Regions from separate parts of the Homo sapiens genome. Here region 2 is linked to region 1. The links are contacts of gene promoters, found by promoter capture Hi-C in blood cells and fetal thymus (Javierre and others, 2016). All regions are on one chromosome and are shown on one strand. The core of a region is centred on a gene start or on the middle of the fragment in contact, and the rest is flanking DNA. Distances in the headings are between cores, read along the strand shown. Region 1 holds the start of MAP4K3 (mitogen-activated protein kinase kinase kinase kinase 3). Region 2 overlaps TMEM178A (transmembrane protein 178A).

Region 1 (6,160 bases), core at 2,899-5,398:
TGCCTGTGTACAGAATTTAGCTAATGCCTAAGAAGCCCAGTCCAGAAGTCACTAAAGATGACTCTAAGGCTTACAGCCTGGAGTCTTTGTGTATCCAGTCTTGGATACACAGGCTAGGAATCATTCACAGGGACCAGACTAAAACCATAAGACTAGGTAAGATACTTCCTCAGAAACCATATTGAGACTATTCTTTCAAAACTTCTTTTGCCTTATCCCATCTCCAGCTTTACTATCTCCTGCTTCTTTCTAGCAAAAAATCTAGAAAAACATAAGGACATCAAGACTTAAAGGGTAGGAATAATAAAAATTAAACTGGAAAACTGCCTGACAAAAGATGGCACAATGCATGTGAAAATCATATTATGATCTATTATAACTACCTAATTTCTCCAAGAAAACTTTTTTGAATGGCAAACCTATGGATCATTTTTTCATTTTTTTGGATCATGAAGCTCTTTAAGAATGCAATGAATGCTATAACCCATCTCCACAGAAAAACACAAATACATACAACATTAAGCCTATTAATTTCAGAGCACTCCATGGGCCTCCTGAGGCCCAACTAAAGAGCTTCAGTTGCCAGCTCCTAGGTCCCTAGGTAACCCAAGCTGCAGGCACTTCATGACAGATAAAGCCTGCAGAGTTACACGACACTTACAAGATACGACTTTAGACAGTGCAGATAAAATGTATATATGCATTGGCCTGAAAAAAATAAAGATAACTTACTTACTAAGTAAAATTTGAGTCATTTAGTCAATACCAAAAGAAGAAGGGCATATGATGGTAATAATATCTCCACAACAAAACAGCTCTGAGAGGTTGATTTCACAAGGTCACATAGCTAATAAATCCCAGATTGTCCACATCCTTGTTCAGTGCTTTGGAACTAAACCACGCCACCTTAAGTACAATAAATATGTTATTACATTGAGTAGGAAAACATTTTCAAAATAAAAATCTCCACCAACCTTCCAAGAATGACTATAATCGGATCTCTTATTTATTTAATCCAATCATTCCATTTTTAGCACGTAAATGCTGACAAATTAAGGAACAAATTATATATATTGGCTTTTGAAAACAAAATGTACTTCTCTCTAGCACAATTAATTTGTATAAATAAGAAAAAACTAAAACAGCAAAACAAATAACAAAAAAATGTAACTTTATAGAATAAACTTGATTATAGACAAAAACATAAACAAGAGTTTGGCAGGCAGGGGTACATGATGTCAAGAACCACATGAAGTTTCTCTGCTTTGGTCACTGGTATTGGAAGAGTCTGGCAGGCAGGGACCAAGCATCTATTATCTGATATCCACTTGGCAGACTACATAAACAGTGAGACCTTGTGGCACAGCAGGAATTAGGTATTCCAACTACTACTTAAAGATCTACACTGACTCAGAGTGTGGCTACAACTCAAATGCTAAACTAAATGTGTGCCTCAGTTTCTCCACTGGAAATGTAATACATTATCTGCCCATCTCCTATCTTTAGAGAGGCAGCACTGCCAATTGGTTAAGAATACAGTCCCTAATTGGTTCAAATTTTGGCTTTGCCACCTACCAACTTTGGCAAGTTAATCTCCTTGTGCCTCAGTTTATTCAACTGCAAAATGGAGTTAACAATAGCACCTATCTCACAGGGTTGCTGTTAGGATTAATTAGAAAAATCTTATAGTGCCTGGCAAGTAACAAGCATTCCATAAACATCAGCTAGTATTATCATTATTTTAAACGAATGACAAGATTAACCAACTTAGTATACCTCTATTACACTTAGGAAATTACAGGCCCTAATTTTTTTTTGCTTTTTAATCATGTGGCTTAACTACTAACTGTTCTTTTTAATATAGCAAGTACACAGCCAATTAGTCCTGTAAAAAAATTCACTGTATACCCTGCCACCTAAAACGTATACATTCATCGAGTTTTAGTTAACTTTTCATCGCAATATAAGCGAACTCCCCCAACCAGTCATAAGTGACTTGCATCCATCCACTTCTACTTTCACAGTCATCACCATATTCCTTAACACCATTATTCTTACCTAGACTATCACAGTGGCCTCCCAACTGCTCCATTCCACTCTTCATGCTGTAGTAGGGAGCTCTTTTAAAAACCTAAATCTAATGTCACTCCTCTGCTTAAAAGCCTGCAATAGTTCCCCATTGTCCTAAACAAGTCCGATCTCCTAATGAGAACTAAGAGGCCTGCAAGATCTAGGGCCACCCTCCCGCTCTGGCTGCTCAGGCTATACAGGCCTTCTTTCACATCGGGCCTCAGAGCCTTCACATATCATGCTCCCCTATCTGGCGTAATCCCCTCTCCCCAGTACCCTAAGCAACGCCTAATCATCTCTGAGATCTCAGCTGAAAGGCGATGAGCGTCTGATACCCTAAACAGGATCAGGTCCTCCTATTACATGCTCTCATAACCCTGATCCTAATACTCTTTTCTGCATCACAAAATTAAACGGCAATAATTATTTAAATGGCTATTTAATACTGTCCTTGTCCAAAAAAATAGAAACACTTAGGAAGATTTGGAACCAAGTCTATCGTTTACTGCTACAACCCAAAGTGCTTACTTGCCAAGTATCTCATACATTGTAGGTGGGCTCAATATATCTATATTGCATAGTAGGAAAAGTGATGAGATCCACGATGGTGAAAAGTAGATCATCCAGAAAATCAGACTAAAGCAGAACACTGGCTGCACTGTATTAAATATGTAAGTTACCACAGGCATTACACTGAAGAGTAAAAACCTGCTTAAACATGGGCAAAATAAAGTTAAGACTGAACTTTCCAATGCAAAATTAAGTTTCTTTGTGCATCCTCAGGTGTTATGTGAAACTGGAGGAGTTCAACTTCAGTTACCAGTAAGAAGATACACAACTAAATCAAGACTGCTGCCACATTTGGCAACAACCTCCTCTCTTCTTGGCAGTAACTGTGAGGCCAAGAGTTGAGTTGGCCAGGGAAGAGTGATTTATCTTCCCACATTTAGAAGTGGTCCCTCTACAACAGGAATGCTGTACCGCTACTGGACTTTGAATTCTAACCTTGTCAAACCAGTACCTTCCCTAAGTATTCAAGTCACTTTTTAAAAAACAAGTTTAAATGGCATCGCAGTCCAATTCGACTTAGAGAAAACAAAGTTGCTCTTTCCAAAAAAAAAAAAAAGTCATTACTCTGGAAAATTAAAAGAAACTGACAGGGGGATGAATAAGGCGCTAAAGGCTGAGAGCTGTCGATGGAAGATGGAGGTCGCTCAGCATAGTATAATAACTACCACCGAGGCCTGGTGGGCAGCAGCTCCCAACCTAGAGCGGACGACCCCAGGTTGGCGTGAAGCAGGCAGGTTTGACAACACCAGACCCCTGCTGTCCGGTTCGTCGCGCTGACCCTGCCAACGCAACAAACGCCCAGACCTTCTCTGCACTATGGATGAGCAGTGTGGCCTGCTCTCGTTCTGCCCTTCCCTGGAAATGCGCGCAAGAAGGGAGGTGGCAAAAATCATGTCCACCGGGGGGGCTCAGGTAAGGGCTGGGGAGGTCTCGGGGTTAAACATTCGGCCCTTTGTTCACCAAGGCAGCAGAGCCCTTGGCGTCCGCAGCTCCTCCTCCCCGACTGCTCCCTGGCGCCAGCGTCTCCCGAGGACAGGCGGCAAGGGCTCGGACGCCCAGGCTTGGCTGCGGGTCGGGATCCCACGGCCTCGGCGGCGCGCGGCCCCTGCCTTTACCTTGTAGACGTCGCCGTAGGTGCCGCTGCCGATGCGCTGAATCAGCTCGAAGTCCTCCTGCGGGTTCCGGCGGGACAAATCGAAGCCGGGGTTCATGGCGGGCCCCAGGTGCCCCCCGCCTCCCTCCCGGGCAGGGGAGGGGGGCCGCTCAGGGGGCCACACGGAGAGAGGGCGCCGCGGCCGGCTCCCGGCTCCCCCGGCGGTCACAATCACCCGGCTCCACGCTGCGGCCGCCGCCGCCGCCGCCGCTCCCCTCACGCCGCTGCGGACGACGACAAGCGGCCAATCGTCCCCGCCCCCCGCGGCCCGCCGCCGCGCCGAACCTGGTCACACCCACAAGGAGAGGAGAACCCTCGCAGCCCCTCGCTCGGGGTGAAACTCCAACATGGCTTCCGCTTTCGCCGCTCCTCCCCCTCCCCTTACTCCGGCTCCTCCAACCTCCTCCCCTTTTCCCGACTCCCGCCCGACTGCGCAGCCGCGATCCCGGAGGGAGCGCGCCAGGCCTGGCGCGCACCCGACCCCTTGCGCGTTCCGGCTCCGCGCGCCTGCCAGGCCGGGGCCGGCGGCGGAACAGCTTGGGACCCGAAACGCCTCGGCTTTTCTGCGGACCCGCGCCCGGCCGCTGCCGCCGGACGCTTGAAAAGGTTTGCCTGGCCCAGGGACCGGGGTTAGGACTAGCAGAAAGTGGCTTCTTTTCGTTTCTGATTCCCCTAACGACAAAGTTGGACCTTGGTCTATCTGGTCCCAGTTCCAAGCAGGTAGCATAGTGGTAATATCCAAGACAGCCAATGTCCCAGCCTTTATTATTTTAGAAGCAGCTACATGTAGGATACCATGGAGTGCTGCAGCCTTTCTGGGATTGCGGGGAGGGGTCACTAAACACACCGTGAGGAAAACCCCCAGGAAAAGTGAGCTGTGCTTGCTTGCCCCTGTCACCGACACTCGGACCCTTGGAGTTGGCCTGCCAGGGTGCAAAGGAGGGCAGGCCAGGAGGGCCGCGAGGGAGGTGTGTGCAGTGGGCAGAGCGTGAAAGCTCCGGGAGGAAAACACGCGGAACAGCTGCCCACCATCCCGCGTGGGAGGCAGGCAGAGCGCAGAACTAAAGCAGTGATTGACCTCCCTCTTCGAAGAGGGTTGGATTATCAAAGACGGGCGGGGACTGCGCAGGCTGTCAAGCAACCCTGTAAAGAAGGGGTGGAGAGTGGACTAGATCTATTACCGCACCTGAAATATAAACACGTGACGATCCGGAAGCTCTTTAGCTGTGACCTTACCTACCCAAAAACCCCACCCTGCTTAAGACCCAGATTGCGCGTCTTACATCTGAGCTATGTGGACTCCAGCTCCGATTGTTAATACTTGCCCAAGAAAGCTTGAGGGTAATGGAAGGTTATTTTTCTGTTCTCATTGAACTTCCCAATAGACATTTGCAGGAGCTTTAATCAATTAGGTGATGGCCACTTTGGCAATACCACGTTGGAGTTTTGCTTCAGAAATGCTTTCCTAATCCCCTTAGGCACCACACCTTCTAACCACTAATATTCCCTAATACCTCGTGGCTCCTGAGAAACTAGGTCTCATCAAACCTGTTAAGGATAAGTATAATAAATTAATAGTAGAGCAAACTACTTAGAGTTAACTGCTTCATACTTTTTCAAAAAATCTTTTGAATCCTTTTGCTCATAGGAAAATTGCATATGTACTAAATTCTCAAATTGTTTACTTTGAGTATCTGTTGACTAAATTGATGTTTGAAAATGGTTATCTCTTCACCTATATAAGTAGCCTTTCAGTTGTGTAATTTTTAATTATTAAATTTTAAAGCATCAGTAATATGAAAGTATCACTTAAATTATTGCCTTAGGAGTGCATATCATTGAATATCTTCTCGATGGATCTACCTTCAGGCTCTGGTATCTTGAGAAACTCCTGACTATAAATGTTATTCCATAGCCAAAGGTCTTGCTTTTGCTTGTTTAAGGTACTTGCCCAGGACCCAGATTACAGGCCTTCCTTCAGTTTGTCCACATTTGGAGAATTGTTTGGCATGTTTAGGCCAAGCGCAAGAATAATTAGCCAAGGATTCAGATAAGCAGACCTGACAAATTATCCCAAATGGAAGCCAGGTCTGCTCTTTTCCTCTGCCTTTTTTTTTTTTTTTTTTTTGAGAAGGAGTTTCGCTCTAGTTGTCCAGGCTTGAGTGCAAGGGTGCAATCTCAGCTCACTGAAACCTCTGCCTCCCGGGTTCTTAGCGATTCTCCTGCCTCAGCCTCCCAAGTAGCTGGGATCACAGGCATGCAACACCACACCCAGCTAATTTTTGTATTTTTAGTAGAGATGGGATTTCTCCTTGTTGGTCAGGCTGCTCTTGAACTCCCGACCTCAGATGATCCGCCTGCCTCGGC
Region 2 (5,968 bases), core at 2,181-4,680, 270 kb after region 1:
TTGGTCTTTGCCCCCATCAGAGGTTGACATTGTCATTTTCCAATGAAATAAGTAACAAGGACTTCAGGATCTTGTTTGGTGGCCAAAGCCACTGTAGAAAACTAATCAGAGTCTCTCATTCTGTAAGTAAATCTCTCTGCGGATTAAAAGGCTCTGTTCTGAATCTCAAACACATAAATGGAAGCTCTTATGATATTGCCAGAGCAGTGGTCTAATATACATATTATGGCAGGCAACTTTAAGACTTAATCATCTTTCCAGAGAGCCATGTAGTTACTGGCTCAGGTCAGGGGAGAAAAGATCATCATAGGAGCCTGAAAAAGAACCTTAGCTCTTTAATAGTTTGTACCTTGTGATTGCCCAGCAAGGCAGTATTTGAAGATTCTTCTTTTAATCCTTTTTGGAGTTCTCATGGAAAGATGCTTTTAGCAGTCTCATGCATGTCTATTTCTAAGAAAGTCACACTTGGTGATCTGTAGCACATTTACTATATAAGCTTAACATGACTGGTACTAATGCAAATCCCATGTGGATTATATCTGAACCTTGTGCCTTTTCAGAGTCACAGAAAATAGACTATCACTCAAACCATAGGAAATTTGGGAGGCTGTAAGATAATGGTGACTGAACCATACTACATTTCCCCTGCTCAGATGTGGCTGTCTCAAAAACTACTTATACCCTTAACATTAAACTCAGCGTCTTTAAATTATCACTGCTCCTGGCCCCTTATTCATTGGTGTCCACATTTCTTCTTCTAGGCAGAAATACTCTCTTTTAATTTGGATGCTCTGAGTGGGAAATGAGAAATCCCTCTTTAAAAAAGGGATGGTCTCTCTGTGGCTAAGGTGCTAAGAGCAAGACTGGAAGCTACTGTAATCCATCCTCCATGAAGCCGCCCCTAAGCTGCCCAGGAGCCACACAAACACACAATAAAGTGATGGCTGCATGGGCACTTTCACTTTAGCAGAGCAGCCCACACTTCGAACAGTGTGATCTGCACCTTGTCTTGGCCCCATGTGTACACAGGTGTGGATGATCCACGTGCATTTGCCCAGACCTGTTACCTGGCCTTGGGGGCAGCAGATGTATGCTTGGGATGTGTTGTTTTAAGAAGGGTGATTGAAATTTAGCGAACAATTTTTAAAGTTAGTTTTGTTAAAAAAAATCCTTTGAGATGGAGCTGCAAGGTAAATAGAAAAGATTCAAAAGCATTTTTTAAAAAAAGAAGGAAGAAAATAGAAAAAGTAAAATAGCTGGAAGGTAGGCAAGGTGAGTGCTGGTTTAGCAGTTGGAGGCAACTTGTGTCCAGGTACACGTAGTCAGCCTACCTCTTGGTTTTGTCAGGCATGTGGGGAAAGAGCTGGATTTCTGGCTCAGTGATCACAGTTGTGTTTTTGCAATAGACCAAACTAGACAGTTGGGCCACTGTATAGTGGAGATTATGTAGTGGAGACTCATCCTATTGGACTAGTACTTCCTTCACCTGGGTAAATGGATGCCCAGGTTGTGGGATCTATGCTTTAGGGGAGAAGGCATTTCTGAGCAGATGTTTCAGAGGAAAGGGTGTTTATGAGCACATGTATCCTGTGTGCACTTTACACCACTGTTCCACTCACCACAATTGCCTTCGCTTTCTCAAATTGTTTTTGAAAATAGGCAGGAGTAGATGTAAATGAAGAAGTAAATAATTGGCATCTGTGGTGATCAGATAAAACCCTATTTCACAATAGCTTTTTTAGGCTCTTTCTCCAAAGCTAGATTAAGTACAGCCACTACCAGGGTAGTAACCTACATTTCTTTTTTTTCCCCTTTTAAAATTTCAATAGTTTTTGGGGTACAGGTGGTTTTTGGTTAACCTACATTTCTATTGTTCTGTTAAGGCTAACAGATATTTCTCAGACCCACCTCACTCTTTGTTTAAGTCATTTGACATCTGTTACTCAGGTCTATCCTGGGCTTGTCCTCTAGTCTATTCTCCACTTAGTGTGGACTTCTCCACGGACTCAGAGACGGTATAGTCTGACCCTCCATTGGTTACACCCCATCAGTCCTCTTATGGAATACCTGGGAAGAGTATTCCCTATGCCTCCTTGTCCTGTGGGCTCTAAGCCTGTCCATGTAACTTACTAATTTTCACAATGTATACAAAGCCCTAATTCTCTAATTCTTAATGACTTTCCTGAATTCTGATTGTGAATGTCTGTGTCTGTTTTGAGATTAGATTTAAGAAGAATCACTGCTGGCTTCCTCGGCATGGCCGTAGCCGTCCTTCTCTGCGGCTGCATTGTGGCCACAGTCAGTTTCTTCTGGGAGGAGAGCTTGACCCAGCACGTGGCTGGACTCCTGTTCCTCATGACAGGTAGGCTGCATGCCTCAGGCCGTCTGTCCCAGCCAAGGTGAAGGCTGCTCTGCATGCGGCTAGCTAGTGTCGCTTTGTTATCTCCCTGTTAATTTTGTTTTCACTGTTAGAAAAGCAACCAGAAGGTCATTTTGGCTTTGCTGGAAAATACAGAATTTAAGGAAAACAACAGTGTGAGAAATGCATCCTCTATATCCCCATTGTGGCCTGTTAGTAGGTTGGATGGAAGTGTCTTGGGTTTAATCTCTATATGAGCCCAGTCTGTTTTTTTGCTGTACTTTCTTTTTTCTTTTTTGTTTTTTTGAGATGGAGTCTCACTCTGTCACCCAGGCTGGAGTGTAGTGGTGCGATCTTGCCCCACTGCAACCTCTGTCTCCTGGGTTCAAGTGATTCTCCTGCCTCAGCCTCCTGAGTAGCTGGGACTACAGGCATGTGCCACCACACCTGGCTAATTTTTGTATTTTTAGTAGGGTTTCACCATGTTGGCCAGGCTGGTCTCGAACTCCTGACCTCAGGTGATCTGCCTGCCTCAGCCTCCCAAAGTGCTGGGATTACAGGCAAGAGCCACCACACCCCACCTTCTGTTCCTTCTTTCATACTGTGCCCCAAACCCTGGCCTGGACTCTTGGCAAACATGGACCATTGCTTATGAGGTGCCCTCAAAGACAGAGGGGGATAGATCAGCACAACCCATGCCCCGCTGGATGTCAATTCAAAGCATGCTTTAGTGATGGTGTCATTTTTACATACACAACACTCATTCATTTTAGTCCACAGATATCTTTTGAGGACTTACTATGTACGAGGCACTGCTGTGAGTGCTAAAGACACACAATGAATAAGGCAGGCAAAATTCTTGTTCATTTTTATTGTGGAGAGACATAAACAATGATTTGTGGTAGTGATAAAAGCTGTGAAGAAAAGAAACAGGGTGAAACAGGGACTCAGGGAAGATCTTGCTGAGGTGGCGATTTCGCAGCTAATTCGTGAGAAGCAGCCGGTGGTAGGAAGAGCGTAGCAGACTGGGGAAACCGCCAGTGCCAAACCTGAGAGAAGCGGCCAGTGGGGCTGGAGGGAGTGAGGGACAGGATAGTATCACATGAGGTGGGGGAAGTGGGCAGTGGCCAAAGCGTCAGGGTTTTGTTGGTCATGGTGGAGAGCTTGGATTTGAAGCTAAGGGTGACAAACGCCACTAGAAGGTTTGAAGCAAAGGAGTGACTTGATTTTTTTTTTTTTTTTTTTTTTTTTTTGAGACGGAGTTTCGCTCTGTCGCCCAGGCTGGAGTGCAGTGGCGCGATCTCGACTCACTGCAAGCTCCGCCTCCCGGGTTCACGCCATTCTCCTGCCTCAGCCTCCCGTGTAGCTGGGACTACAGGCGCGCGCCACCATGCCCGGCTAATTTTTGTATTTTTAGTAGAGACGGGGTTTCACCGTGTTAGCCAGGATGGTCTCGATCTCCTGACCTCGTGATCCGCCCGCCTCGGCCTCCCAAAGTGCTGGGATTACAGGCGTGAGCCACCGCGCCCGGCCGATTTTTAAAGAAGGGATTGGAAAGATGGGGGTGTGGAGACAGGGCTAGGATTTTTTTGACTAACAGCTAAAGGGTAGTTTTGTCTAAAAATGTGCCAGGTGCTGAGTTGATGGCTAACACTGACCGAAGGTAGCTTCAGGGAAGAAATCTTTCCTTTCTTCTCCTCCTTCACAGAAAACTCGTGTATTAATGATTAGTGAATGCCACATTAACTGGGCATTAACAGTTTCACACAGTATACTCAGCAACAGAACTAATATTCCCCGAGATAGATAGCCATTTTAAATAGGCTTATTTCCACTTGCTTGGAATTCTGTTATTCAAGTGACTATGCCTAGATTTTCTTGCACTTCTCACTGTAATGGGTCACTTAATTAAGCCTGCGTTAACAGGAGGCAGCCACACCCCACCGGGGCTGACACTGTTTGCTGACTGTCTGTCTCTGAGCGTTGACGGGTAGGGGGTACTTTGCCCTCTGGCATGTTCAACCACCCTGCAGCCTTAAGGAACCCACATCACAGGCAGGGATCCTTCCTTCTAACTCCCACTCACCCCTATCCCACTCCACGAAATGGTGCTGCAATTGGCAGTGATCTGGAATGTGGGGCATCATCACCAGCATCCTGGAACATTCAGAAGTCACATGGATGCTGCCTAGTTCTCAGCAGAAAACCAATTTAGGTTTTCTAGATTTTGGTGAATACACAGTGGCCACCAGGACTGTAGCACAGGGAGGCTAAAATGTTAGTTTCTGAGGTTTTAGAGGAGGATTTGGACCCTCAAGACCAGCCACTGGGTTCCTGCCCAAGGGATGCATTTAAAATCCAAATTATAGACTAAAGCAGACGCGGGCAGCAAAGAACCAGAGAGGACTGCACTGCACAGAGGATTCCTTTACACCTCTGCTGGGGCTTAATGGTTATTTAAAAATCTCCCCCGTTTTCTTCTCTCCCTTTATTTAAGCCCCCATTTCTCTGACTCTTGTCTCCATAAATATCAAAGAGGTACAGATGTGTTGCCTCCCAACACATGGGAAAGGCCCCATAACACTCCCCTTGTCAGGAAAATGGGGGATGCTCTGGAGTGGACAAAAGCCTCAGTAGGAGGAGTTTTTAAAGGATACTTTAAATATATGTACTGCCTGAATAGTTTAGTATGCTCTTAGCAAATGAAACAATTGTTAGAACTAAAATAAATTACAAGACCATGAAAGCCTACTGAGTGCTCCTTGGGAGACTGAGGGGCCAGTCTGGTTTTAAATGAAAGGAAGTTGAAGGTTCAATGGCAGGTGGGCACAGAGGAGAGGCAGTAGTTTCCTGGGCCAGCTCCACCTCTCCCTGTTCTCAGCCCTTATTTTGGATCCATGTGTGGATTGTACCTCTGGACCAGAGGAGCTCAGAGGTCCTCAGGATCGAGCACGGGAAGCTCCTGTGTAATTGTTAGGCAACATCAAAATATGCAAAGCAATAGCCACAACAGAAACCACCACCACCACCAACAAAAACCCAAACAATAAACTTGAAGTTTGATGACCAGTTCTGAAGGACTAACAGATACAACCTAACATTGTTAACATTGTTCTGTTGTTTTGTTTTGGTTGCCCAAACAACGTTATTGAAATTAAGGGGGAATCCACTTACAGACCTCATCACCTGAAAACAAAACAACCTTTTTTCAATATTTCCTTTATTTTGGACCAAATCTTGCCATGTATTTGCTTCACTGTAAAAAAACAAGAAAGGAAAAGGAAGGAGAAGAAAGGGGAGGGGATGGAAGAGGGGAGAGGAGGAGCATGGAGTGGATATGCTATGCTGGATTCACCTGTTCTGTTGCTGTGGGATTTAGGGGCGTTTGTTTTGCTTTTGTTACTACAAATAATGCCTTGAAATTTCCTTTGCAAACACTGAGACAACCATGTCAATCTATTGCTTGAGATAAATTAGCTGTAGAACGTTCACATGCAGTAGGAGATGAGAGCAAAAAAAGGGTTAAAAGAATCGATTTTAATTAAGCAGAATGTCTTTAGCCACTCAAGTCAGCATCCTTCCCACAGATTTTTGATGCTAAACTTAGCC

The links. The method cuts DNA at HindIII sites, captures the fragments that hold promoters and counts their contacts. A CHiCAGO score of 5 or more calls a contact.
Region 2: a fragment that was not itself captured here is called in contact with the fragment with the promoter of MAP4K3 in region 1 in 3 of 17 cell types (endothelial precursors, total B cells and naive B cells); the score reaches 7.5 in endothelial precursors.

The regions. Positions count from the first base shown.
Region 1 is chr2:39,433,137-39,439,296 of GRCh38, forward strand. MAP4K3 (mitogen-activated protein kinase kinase kinase kinase 3) reads right to left here and starts at 4,149. Exons shown (of 34, transcript NM_003618.4): 1 at 3,756-4,149. The coding sequence starts at 3,851. It overlaps MAP4K3-DT (MAP4K3 divergent transcript), which reads left to right and starts at 4,280. Exons shown (of 6, transcript NR_037875.1): 1 at 4,280-4,399. RefSeq lists an enhancer at 3,343-3,422 and silencers at 3,753-4,112, 4,183-4,402. The HindIII fragment of the contact is 5,405 bases long and covers 1-5,125 here.
Region 2 is chr2:39,704,825-39,710,792 of GRCh38, forward strand. TMEM178A (transmembrane protein 178A) reads left to right here. Exons shown (of 4, transcript NM_152390.3): 3 at 2,225-2,362. Among named protein-coding and RNA genes, the nearest start is that of TMEM178A, 42 kb to the left of the region's middle. The HindIII fragment of the contact is 5,873 bases long and covers 495-5,968 here.